Regions from separate parts of the Homo sapiens genome. Here region 2 is linked to region 1. Evidence: promoter capture Hi-C in human tissues and cell types (Jung and others, 2019). All regions are on one chromosome and are shown on one strand. The core of a region is centred on a gene start or on the middle of the fragment in contact, and the rest is flanking DNA. Distances in the headings are between cores, read along the strand shown.

The links. The method cuts DNA at HindIII sites, captures the fragments that hold promoters and counts their contacts. A contact is called where the count stands out against the background at its distance.
Region 2: a fragment that was not itself captured here is called in contact with the fragment with the promoter of ZP1 in region 1 in 1 of the 25 tissues and cell types used here (hippocampus).

Annotation. Positions count from the first base shown.
Region 1 is chr11:60,864,327-60,870,188 of GRCh38, reverse strand. It overlaps ZP1 (zona pellucida glycoprotein 1), which reads right to left and starts at 2,647. Exons shown (of 12, transcript NM_207341.4): 1 at 2,432-2,647; 2 at 923-1,044; 3 at 289-652. The coding sequence starts at 2,627. RefSeq lists silencers at 5,695-5,862, 5,759-5,862. The HindIII fragment of the contact is 7,386 bases long and covers 1,132-5,862 here.
Region 2 is chr11:61,327,101-61,332,901 of GRCh38, reverse strand. DDB1 (damage specific DNA binding protein 1) reads left to right here. Exons shown (of 27, transcript NM_001923.5): 2 at 1,211-1,359; 3 at 2,828-2,944; 4 at 3,318-3,539. Among named protein-coding and RNA genes, the nearest start is that of DDB1, 3.1 kb to the left of the region's middle. RefSeq lists an enhancer at 1-235. The HindIII fragment of the contact is 5,328 bases long and covers 1,161-5,801 here.

The DNA of each region.
Region 1 (5,862 bases), core at 1,398-3,897:
ATTTCTAGAGAATATTTTCTGAGAATCAGGTGTTGCTGGCAATGGTTTCAATGAGTTTCTGCCTAAAGTTAGGAAACAAATTTACAAGACCTCTTCTAGCTTTAGTACACCTATACATGTTTAAAGCTGTTTTCCAAATACTACAAAGGAATAAAAGAATCATCTTTTTCTAAAAAAAGAAAAAAACAAAAAAAGAAATGGCTTAGAGCCCAGTAAAAGGCTGTTAGGCCACCCTGTACTCCAGAAGTCCCCAGACAGAGGGTAAGTACACTCAGATGTCCTGCGTACCTATGTAATCTCGTTTGTTCACATCCCAGTGTTCCAAGGTGCCCCAGTGGGGTTGAGCCAGGGTGGCGAGGGTAGGTCCAGGTCCAGGGGATGGTAAAGCAGGGGTTGGGTGGACAGAGCTGTGCCCTGGGTCCAGTGGGCTGGGAAAGGCATGGCCAGAGCCTTGGGAGGTATGGCCAGAGGTGGGGAGGAAGGAAAGGGTTTGTGGGGTTGAGACAGAGAACATGGCGGGTGGTGCCAGCTGGGAGTCCAGAGTCCGGGAGGGGTCAGGTTTGGGACAGATCAGAGTAGCGTCTTGTGCCACATCCACACGACCATTGGGCAGCACAGCCTCCATGAACACCCTCAGGTGGAAACGCCCATCCTGCAGGTGAGAGGCCATCATAGAGCAGCAAGGTGAGGCCACCTAGCATACCCAGGCAGGGGACGGGCCCACGAGAGCTGAGCTGGCCATTAGGCAGGGAGCTGGATTCATGGTGGATTCCAGAAAGTACCTTCCAGAGCTTAGTTTCCCTCACCCACCAGCTCAACAGATCTTCGGCTTTGGCTCCTTTCTGGTTCATGAGGGGCCTCTTCAGCCTGACATGACACTAGGACAAGCTTGCCCCTGTGCCAGAGCATGAACAACCCCTACCTTCTCCAGCACGTGGCAGCCTCTGTAATCGGCCGAGAAGACTGCAGGCTCCTGCGGCCTGGAGGTGACCCAGTGGTAGCAGATGGAGCAGTTGTTGACATCAAATCGGTTCCCAAATTCATCTGCAGTGGGGGAAGGGGAGGGGCCAGGGATGTTGAAGGGTGCAGGGAGAGGTTGCTGGGGTCTCGGAAGGAGTTCCCACTCAGCAGCCAGGAGACCTGGGTTCTTGCCTTAGCTTTGCTATTAGTTTGTTGTGTGGTCTTGGGCAAGCCCCCTCCCCTCTCTGCTCTCAGTTTCCACAGCTGTAAGGGGATGGGAGGGTCTTAGGATCTTTCTAGCTAGGGTTCCCTGCTCACAGCACACGGCAGCAGGCAGGCACGAAGATGAGGTGGAGAAGGGATACACAGGGTCTCAGGCACTGGCCTGAGTATTTCACATCACTTCTTTTAAGCTTAGTTATCCACATCCTGTGGCTGAGGCAGCTGAGGAAGGGAGGGTGCGTGAGCTTTCTTAGGTGCACACAATGAGGGGCAGAATGAGGATTTGAATCCTGGGCTTTGTAGAAAGATCTGAACCCATTTCCCAGGTTAACTGTGGCTGCTGCAGTTGCTTGGAGACACCCCCTAGGTGTCCACCCTGCTTGTTGCCCCAGAACAGCCTGGGCATTCCCTGGGTGTGGGCATGTCCCCATGCCCTTGTTCCATGAGCACGGCCAGGTTCATCTTCCCCACCTTGCAGATGAGGAAACAGAGGCTTATGAGTCAGGTCAGTTGTCCAAAATCATCCCGTTTAGAAGCTGCAGATCCAAACCCCAGTTCTAAACCCACACCAGGCCACGCCTACTAGGTCCTGCTGCTGGAAGTGGTTTATGGACCCTCAGCCTCAGTTTTGACTGAGCGTGGTTAGAGATGCAGAGCCTAGGCTGGGTGCAGTGGCTCACGCCTATAACCCCAGCACTTTGGGAGGCTGAGGCAGGTGGATCACCTGAGGTCAGGAGTTCGAGACCAGCCTGACCAATATCGTGAAACTCCATCTCTACTAAAAATACAAAAAGTAGCTGGGCGTGGTGGCACACACCTGTAGTCCCAGCTACTAAGAGGCTGAGGCAGGAGAATTGCTTGAACCTGGGTGGTGGAGGTTGCAGTGAGCTGAGATCGTGCCAACTGCACTCAAGCCTGGAGAACAGATTGAAAGAAGTGAGACTGTCTCAGAAAAAAAAAAAAAAAAGAAAAGAAATGCAGAGGCTTGGCCCTGCCCCAGGTCCACTGAATCAGAACCTGCACCTCAACAAGGTGGCCAGGTGTTTCCCATGCACACTAACGTGGGAGAAGCTGCCCTGGGTGATGATTCTCCTCCTTGCCCTTTTCTGTGGTGAGGGGGTGGGGGGCTGGACACCCCCAGGCTGGAGGGAGGCCTCTGTTCTTGCTCCTTCAGGGGAAGGGTCCCAGCTCCCTTCTGGCAGCAGCCCGTGGCCAGGGAGGCAGGGGCCAGGACTCTGCCAGCACTCACCCACCACCTTGAAGCGGAGAGTCTGGCCTGGCCTGGGGAACACCAGCAGCTGCATTCCCTTGATCCCACAGTCGTAGCTGTGCCGGAGGCCTGGGAGGCCAGGGTCGGGCTGGAGCCACCTACCCAGCCCCAGGGTGGCAACCAGCAGTAGCAGGGCCACAGGGTAACCCCAGGTCGTGGCTGAGCCTCCTGCCATGAGACGCCACAGACACACCCCCTACTCCCTCGCCACCAGAGCTGGGCCCAGGCCTTTTATGGAGGAGGTGGCAAGTGGGTGCCTGTAAGGGCAAAGGGGGCCCACCTGGAGGAGCACCCACCTGGCCACCAGGGGCTGTGGTGAAACTCCTGTTCCAAAGGCAGCGGGAGGCAGAAAGCTGCACGTGGCCCCTCACCCTGGCTTTCTGTCTCACAGCTGTGGCTTTGGAAGGGAGGAGGGAGCTTTCCAGAAAACTGAGGTTGCAGATGGGCTGTGGGAAGGGATCCAGGGCTAGGAGGTGGCACTGCAGACCTCAGGCCCTCCACTGTCTCCCTCTCACCCCAGCCTTTCTGCATTCCCTTCCTGCCCCAACAGGCTCTCCAGGTCCTCCTTCCTGCCTTGAGGCCTCAGGACCACTGGGAGCTGCCGGCCTGGTTAGTACAGTCACAGCTCCTCAGGCAGGGCTTTAGGGGCATTAGAGCAAGACCAGGAAGACACAGCCCTCAGAGCTGGCAGCGGAATGGGGACTGCAGGTGAGTAAACAGACCAGTAGCACCTCCAAGGGCTCTCCTGAGGATTCAGCCGGTCAGTATGATGATGACTATGACTAATAAAAAATAACAAGGACAACTAAATGTAATGTGGCATCTGGATGGGATCGTGGAACAGAAAAAGGCAGTAAAAGTGAAGAAAGTGGATTTTAGTTAATAATAATGTGTCCACATTTGTTTGTTCATTAATTGTAATAAATGTATCATACTCAAGTAAGATCAGTTATGGGGTAAACTGGGCCTGCGGTGTATGGGAACTGTCTGTACTATCTTCTCAGTTCTGTAAATCTAGAACAGTTCTAAGACATAAAAGTGGCTGGAAACAACAAGAATGGCCTGTGGTCTGCCATGATTACAGTGCCAGGTCTTGCTTGTGTTAGATCCTTATACCGCCTGACCATCCTCTGAGGAAGGGACTGTCACCAGCCCCACGTCCTGGCACTAATTCCTGCAAGTGATTAGCCTAGGGCCCAGCAGCGTTTGAGCTCAGCAAACATTAGAAAATGCAGCTATTATAATTAGCAGCTGCTGGAAGGGGAGAGCAAGAGGCTTGATAGCTAAGAGCCCGGTTCTGGTGAGGTTGCAGAGAAAAAGGAATGCTTATACGCTCTTGGTGGGGGTGTAAATTGGTTTGACCACTGTGGGAGTGTGGTGATTCCTCAAAGAGCTGAAAACAGAACTATCATTTGATGCAGAAATCGCATTACTGGGTATATATCCAAAGGAATATAAATTGTTCTATCATAAAGACACTGAACCTGCGTGCATATGTTCAGTGCAGCATGATTCACAATAGCCAAGACATGGAATCAAATGCCCATCAATGGTAGACTCAATAAAGAAAATCTGGTACATGCTGAGCACGGTGGCTCACGCCTGTAATCCCAGCACTTTGGGAGGCCGAGGCGGGCGGATCACGAGGTCAGGAGATCGAGACCATCCTGGCTAACATGGTGAAACCCTGTCTCTACTAAAAATACAAAAATTAGCTGGGTGTGGTGGCACGCACCTGTAGTCCCAGCTACTCAGGAGGCTGAGGCAGGAGAATCGCTTGAACCCAGGAGACGGAGGTTGCAGTGAGCCGAGATTGTGCTGTTGCACTCCAGCCTGGCCGACAGAGTGAGACTCTGTCTCAAAAAAAAAAAAAAAAAAAGAAAAAGAAAAAAAAAAAAGGAAAATGTGGTACACATACACCATGGAATACTATGCAGCCATAAAAAAGAATGAGATCACATCTCTTGCAAGAACATGGATGGAGCTGGAGGATATTATCCTTAGCAAACAAATGCAGGAACAGAAACCAATACCACATGTTCTCACTTATAACTGAAGGCTAAATGATGACAACATATGGACACATAGAGGGGAATGGCACACACTGGGGCCTATTGAAGGGTAGAGGGTAAGAGGAAGGAGAAGGGTGGAAATAATAACTATTGGGTGCTAGGCTTAGTATCTGGGTGATGAAATAATCTGTACAACAATCCCTCTGGACATGCATTTACCTATATAACAAACCTGCATAAGTAACCCTGAACCTAAAATAAAAGTTTAAACAAAAAAAGTTGGTTCTAATGGTGCCCCAACCACTTTCTTAGCTGTGACTCAGATGCATTATCTATTCTGAGCCTCAGGTTTCCTGTTTGTAAACTGGGGGTGATAATGCTTTCCTTGCCCACATGGTGGATAGGAAGACACAAAGAGACAAGTCATGGGTACCAGGTGCAGTAATGATTTAATGCTTGGCAATAATTCACTTCTACTGTGATTAAAGCTCAGCTGGGAAAGCTTGGTGGGGCGGGGTGGGAGTCCCTCTGGGGGCACAGTGGGAAGAGGCACCCAACACAGCATCGAGGATGGGCGACATGGAAGTGTTTTTGGAGGAAAGGGGTCCTGAGCAGAGGTGGGAGGAGGCGGGGAGGACAGGGATGGTGCAATGGGGATCTGGGGAGAGCAGAGCTGGAGGAGGAGGGAGGAAGCAGGTCACACAAAGGTCCAGGACAAGGACTCCAGGCAGGCTGAGGGTGCTGGCGAGGGAAGGACTAGGAGGGGAAGGAGAGGAGCCAGGCAGGAGCGGGGAGTGGGGTGGATTTTCCCTGAGGGACGATGTGGAAGTTTTAAACTTTTAATTTTGAAATTATTTCAGATTTGCAGAATTTCCATATAGCCTCCTCCAGATTCCTCAGATGTTCACTGTTCACTTTTTACATTTGCTGTAGCTCCCGCTTTCTCTCTCTGCATGTGTGCAGACATACACGCACGCACACGCACACACGCACACATTCTTCCATATCATTCAAGAGTCAGTTGCAGAAATGACAGATTCCCCTTTACCTCTAATTGCTTCAGTATACATTTCCTAAAAAAACAAATCACCCCTACAGTCAAATGATCAAAATCAGGAAACCAACAATGGTATAAACACAACGATCTAATCTGCAGACATTATTGTAAGAAATAAAGAGGAAAGCAACATGAAAGGGCGGTTCAACAGGCAACAGGGACAGGTTTATGTTGAGTAAACCTGAGAGGGGCGGCTGGCCGAGTTAGGTCAGAGCCCCACTCTCTTACAGATTAAGAGTTAAGGATTCAGGGCGGGGGAGTTTATCAGAGGCTTGGACTGCTCCTGTGTCTCTTTGCTGTGCGTATCTGGGAGGGAGAGTTGTGTGTCTGTTCCCATATAT
Region 2 (5,801 bases), core at 2,575-5,074, 460 kb before region 1:
CTGCCGGGGCCGGAGACCCCGGCGAGTGAGGGAGTTGGGGGGAGCCGCGGCCTAGGGAGGCCCGCCGCCCCGGGGGCGGCCGGGCAGGAGTGGGCCCGGCGAATGGAAGGCGCTGGCGGCCGAGGAACCTCCCCCAGCACCGCGACCTCGAAAGAGTCGTCCCTGTACGCGCTTTTTGGGGGTTGGAAGCCGCTCTCGAGGGTCCCCTTTCGTCCTGGGGAGGTCATTCGGCCTCGAGAACAGGGCGGGCCCAGTGAGACAGAGGAGTGTGAGTTGGTTGTGCGGTGTCGTTTGGGCCCGGAGATTGGCTTTCTGTGGCCAGGAAAAGGGGAGGTGGTAATGACGACTTTGGGGTCAAGATTTTCCTGTGGGGAAGTCTGGGGGGCCCAGGAGGTGGAGGGATGTGAGGAATGCCCGCATTATCCCACAGAGGGAGAGGAGCCCTCTTCAGGCTAACCCCTTTGCCTGGGGCTGTTGTTTACATGAGGGCCCTGCTGGAGAAGAGGGTTTGGTTTGCCTGGCCCAGTGCTGGGTTTGCCTTGTTGACGATGCGCTTGGATTGTTAAGGACACCGATGTTCAGAACCCGGGAAGAGTCATCTTAACCCACATTCTCAGCTGAATATGCAGACCCCAAGCTTGCATGTTTATATACACCCTAATCATGATTCCAAAACAAAACTGTTGTTCAGAGTTGGAGGTAGCTGAGTGTGGATGGAGGTATTGGTAGACTGCCAGGAGGGCAGGGGGTGTGGACAAAACAGTGTTTTCATATAAAGCTCTGGGACTTCTTCATTTGACTTGGTCTGTCAGATAAAAGTTTTGTGAGACTTTAGATGAAGACTGGAAGAAGTGAACACTTTCTCCGGCATTCTCAATTAGAGCCTGCCACTGTAACTGTAATAGAGTAAAATTGGAGGGGCAAGAGGCATGAGAAGGGATTACGCAGTCATTGTCATTTGGAGGACACACGGCTCTTAGGTCCAGTCCAGTTTTCTTAGTCTGATTAGGGAAGTAGCTTTGTTGAATGCATGAACTGAGACTCTTTGAGGTGCCGGATTTGGCAAGAAGGGGAGTAGCTGGAGGGAGTTGGAGAAGTATGTGAAGTAAATGAGAATTCTGGAGGTATTTAGACATAAGTGATAGGATTATTTTGAAGGGATGGGAGGCCCTTCCCCTGAGTTCAAAAGTTAGAGGGTCTGTTCTTTCAGGACACTTTACTTCGGCCGAAGACTTAAACCTGTTGATTGCCAAAAACACGAGATTAGAGATCTATGTGGTCACCGCCGAGGGGCTTCGGCCCGTCAAAGAGGTGGGCATGTATGGGAAGATTGCGGTCATGGAGCTTTTCAGGCCCAAGGTAAGTGTTGCAGTTGGGACAAGCAGTGGAGGGGGAACTGTTGGTCGTAGGTTGTTTTATGTTATTTTTGTTTGTTTATTTATTTTCTTTGAGACGGGGGTCTCACAGTGTTGCCCAGGATGTCTTGAACTCCTGAGCTCAAGCAATCCCTCCACTTTAGCCTCTGGAGTAGAGTAGCTGGGGTATTGTAGGCATGCCACCGTGCTTGGGCTGTGTTAGGTTGTTTTGCGAATTCTTGGGATGGGTGGAATATGCTTTAGGAGAAAAACTCTTCTCTTTTTTCTCTCTTTGGATAGCAAATTTCAGTATGTACTCTTGACCAAGCTTTCTAGAAGTAAAAGGAGAGATTCATTAGGGAAACATTTATGAAGTTGACTTCTTTAGAAGGGAGAAATTAAAGCAGTTTGTTTCAGAGGATAGGCTACAGAGTGGGGCAGTCCTGGCTTCATTTCTTGTTAATTCTGACTTTAGGTGCCACTTAAGGCACCTTTCAGATCAAATCCCCTGGGTTGTTGTGACGATGAAATGATTCAGTAACATAGGGCCTATCATATAGCAAGCATTTACAGTTATGTTAACAATTACCAGGCCGGGCATGGTGGCTCACGCCTGTAACCCCAGCACTTTGGGAGGCCGAGGTGGGTGGATCACGTGAGGTCAGGAGTTCGAGACCAGCCTGGCCAACATGGTGAAACCCCATCTCTACTAAAAATACAAAAGTTAGCCGGGTGTGGTGGCACGTGCCTGTAATCCCAGCTACTTGGCAGGCTGAGGCACAAGAATTGCTTGAACTCAGGAGGCGGAGGTTGCAGTGAGTGGAGATGGCGCCCATTGCCCGGTGACAGAGCGAGACTCCATCTCCAAAAAAAAAAACACCAAACAAAAAAAACAATTACCATCAGTATTTTCATTATTTTAGCGCAAATGTTTTCATCCAAATCACCACCACATTGCTTTATGTTGTCTTAACTGAATCTGGCAAGAAAGCAGTGGGTTCAAAATTTTAATTATAACCCTTTGAACAAAACAGCAATTTTTTGGAGTCTGTGTTAAATAAGTAGGACTTTGTTGATCCATTTTAGCTTCCGTTGTTATTCCCACATTTTTTTTCCTCTTTCTTCAAATACTTGGGGAGGAGTGGAGGAGGCATTACATTCATCTTTCAGAATTTGAATGGGATGATTGAGATTAGCTTGAGATTGAAATAGATGAAGACTTTGTTTGTAGAACAGAGAGATGGAGAATCATGAAAGTGAGAACTAGATGTTTACCAGCTTCAGTTCTGGCTTTTTGTACATGCCCTTAGGGTGTATGTGTACCTAGTGTGGGTTACAAGCTCACCATGTATTTTCTCTTTAGGGAGAGAAGAATTTGGAAAATTCTTAAAGAATTTGGTGTGCTTAAAGACTGGACAGGTTGTTCCTGTTTTAAAAAGAACCTCTTTTGATAGCATAATATTGGTTTCCAGGGGGAGAGCAAGGACCTGCTGTTTATCTTGACAGCGAAGTACAATGCCTGCATCCTGGAGTATAAACAGAGTGGCGAGAGCATTGACATCATTACGCGAGCCCATGGCAATGTCCAGGTGAGGTGGCTGCTTTAGGCCAATGAAAGTTTTCTAAGTAGGGCTGTCATGATTCATGGAAAAAATTAAAGTGCTGGGGGCAGCTCTCTATTCGATCAGAGAAATAAGGAGAAGACACTATGGGTTTGAGCTTTTTGGAGAAAGGACTCCTGTAGTTCACTCAAGACCCAAGGGACAGGGTAATAATTCATTGAGATTCAGTGTTTCATGAAAAAGGCATGCACTGACATTGGGGCTCCAACTATTTGGCCTATCAAATAGATCCATTAGTTTTAATACCTCTCCTAAAATTTTTCTGCACAAGTGGTGCCCAGCGTCCTCTGTTGCTCTGTGGATGTTGAGGTTCTTCCCTAATCCCGATTTTGTTTCTCAGGACCGCATTGGCCGCCCCTCAGAGACCGGCATTATTGGCATCATTGACCCTGAGTGCCGGATGATTGGCCTGCGTCTCTATGATGGCCTTTTCAAGGTTATTCCACTAGATCGCGATAATAAAGAACTCAAGGCCTTCAACATCCGCCTGGAGGAGCTGCATGTCATTGATGTCAAGTTCCTATATGGTTGCCAAGCACCTACTATTTGCTTTGTCTACCAGGTACTGGATCAGGAAGAGAGAGCGAGAAACTGTGAGGTTGATGTGATAGGAGTTGTTTTTGCTAACTGGCATGTCTGGGTTTGGTAGGATAGAGAGAAGTGTTTAATGTGTTTGTCCTGAAATGTTTTGAACAACACAATTAATATGGGTCAGACTTTCGTTGCTTCTTGAGTGCAGTAGTACTTATTGTGGAGGCAGCAAGCTCTCTGGGGCTTGTAGCAGGTTTTAATCCTGAGATTACACTCTGGTTGTGGGCCTTGGGAGATTTCATAGGATGACCCAGTTTATACTTTGATTCTCTTACTGGAGTGCTAGGGGATTATTAAAACTTAGTTGTCAAGAAATTATCTAGATCTTGCCTTTATATTAAGCAAAGAGAAATTGTCTTGGTGATGCCTTATATGTGTTTTTTAAGAAGAGGTTTACATTTTGTCCAGTAATCACTTACTGGTGACTTGCTGGCTTATTTTAATTTTATTTTATTATTTTTTTTGAGACAGAGTCTCACTCTGTTGCCCAGGCCGGAGTGCGATGGCCTGATCTTGGCTCACTGCAACCTCCGCCTCCTGGTTCAAGCGATTCTCCTGCCTCAGCCTCCTGAGTAGCTGGAATTACAGGTGCATGCCACCACGCCCAGCTAATTTTTGTATTTTTAGTAGAGACGTGGTTTCACCATGTTGGCCAGAATCGTCTCAAACTCATGACCTCATGATCCGCCTGCCTCGGCCTCCCAAAGTGCTGAGATTTCAGACGTGAGCCACCGTGCTCGGCAACTTGCTGGCTCTTAACTTCTATTTTAGTCTGCCTAAAACTGTAGCAGAGCTGATCCTGGGCAGCTGTTCTCTGGTCCAGATCTGTTAAGCGGGGGTGGGGTGGTAGAGCACCAGACTAACATGCCAGTATCTTGGTAAAATCTCAGCCCTTTAACAAAGGGCCATGCAGCATAAGATCATTTCATTTGCATGTGGCTGAATAAGTGATGGAAGGAAATGATAGTCCAGTTCCACATAGAGTGTGTTGGCACATAAACAGTTTGATAGCCTTGTTATATGTTGGAGGTGCTGATATATTTTTGTATATTTCTTAGTGTTACTGTAGTTCTGAAGCTATTGGAATAAGACCCAATTGAATAAGGTTGAAACCAGGAGATTTTGTTTGATCTTACTTAGTATGAGTTAAAATAAAAACTTAGAATTTCTCTATGTTCTTTAGTTTTGTAATATTAGGTCATTAAAACTTTGATGTTGTTGATTATTCAAGGCTGGTTGTTCTAAGCTTCAGGGCTGCCAGCTGTGATCAGATCTTCATTTCTGCATGTGTGTCTCAGAGGCCCAAATCCACACTTGAACTTTTTGCAAAGTTGTGTCATAACCCTACTCATTGATGGGAAAATGTTTTCATCAGCCAAAAATTACTATCTTCTGTTTTATGCCAGAAATTCAATTTGACAAATATTTAGGTACTTAGTGCTATGTGAAAGGTATTCATGCTTCAGGAGCTGTAACAGTGACTAAGATGTGATCCCTGCCCTGAAACACATTGCTGAATTCCTTCCATAACTTCTTTGTTGAAGCTGTCTTCCACTGGCTGAGTGTAGCTTTCTTCTGGTCCCTGCTTTTTAGCATCTTAAAGGTGACCTTGGCAGTCCCAGGACTGACATGAGTCATAATTCAGAAAAAGGAGGGGAAGATGATGTTGACAATGGCAGGACTGAAAGTTTTGACAACTTTAGCGGAGCAATCAATTGTGTTCTCTCTACCATTATTCCATCAGAATGCTTTTAAGAATTGTATCAATTTAAAAAAAATCTCATAGGTGTAGCTTATCAGTGCGTGTTTCACTTAGCTGTTTTGTAAGTTTCTCGAGGCTAAGGAACACACACAGGCACACACACTGTATCTCTTTTTTTTTTTTTTCTGAGATGGAGTCTTGCTCGGTCGCCCAGGCTGGAGCTCAACCTTCGCCTCCTGGGTTCAAGTGATTCTCCTGCCTCAGCCTCCCGAGTAGCTGGGACTGTAGGCACGCGCCCCCATGCCAGCTAATTTTTGTATTTTTAGCAGGGACGGGGTTTTGCCGTGTTGGCTAGGCTGGTCTTGAATTCCTGACCTCAGGTGATCTGCCCACCTCAGCCTTCCAAAGTTCTGGGATTACAGGCGTGAGCCACTGTGCCTGGCACACAGTATCTCTTATAGTACCTAGTGCAGTGTGACAAGTTCATTTTTCTAATTCTTTAAACCTTTCTTGGTTGGTTGAATTGTTAAG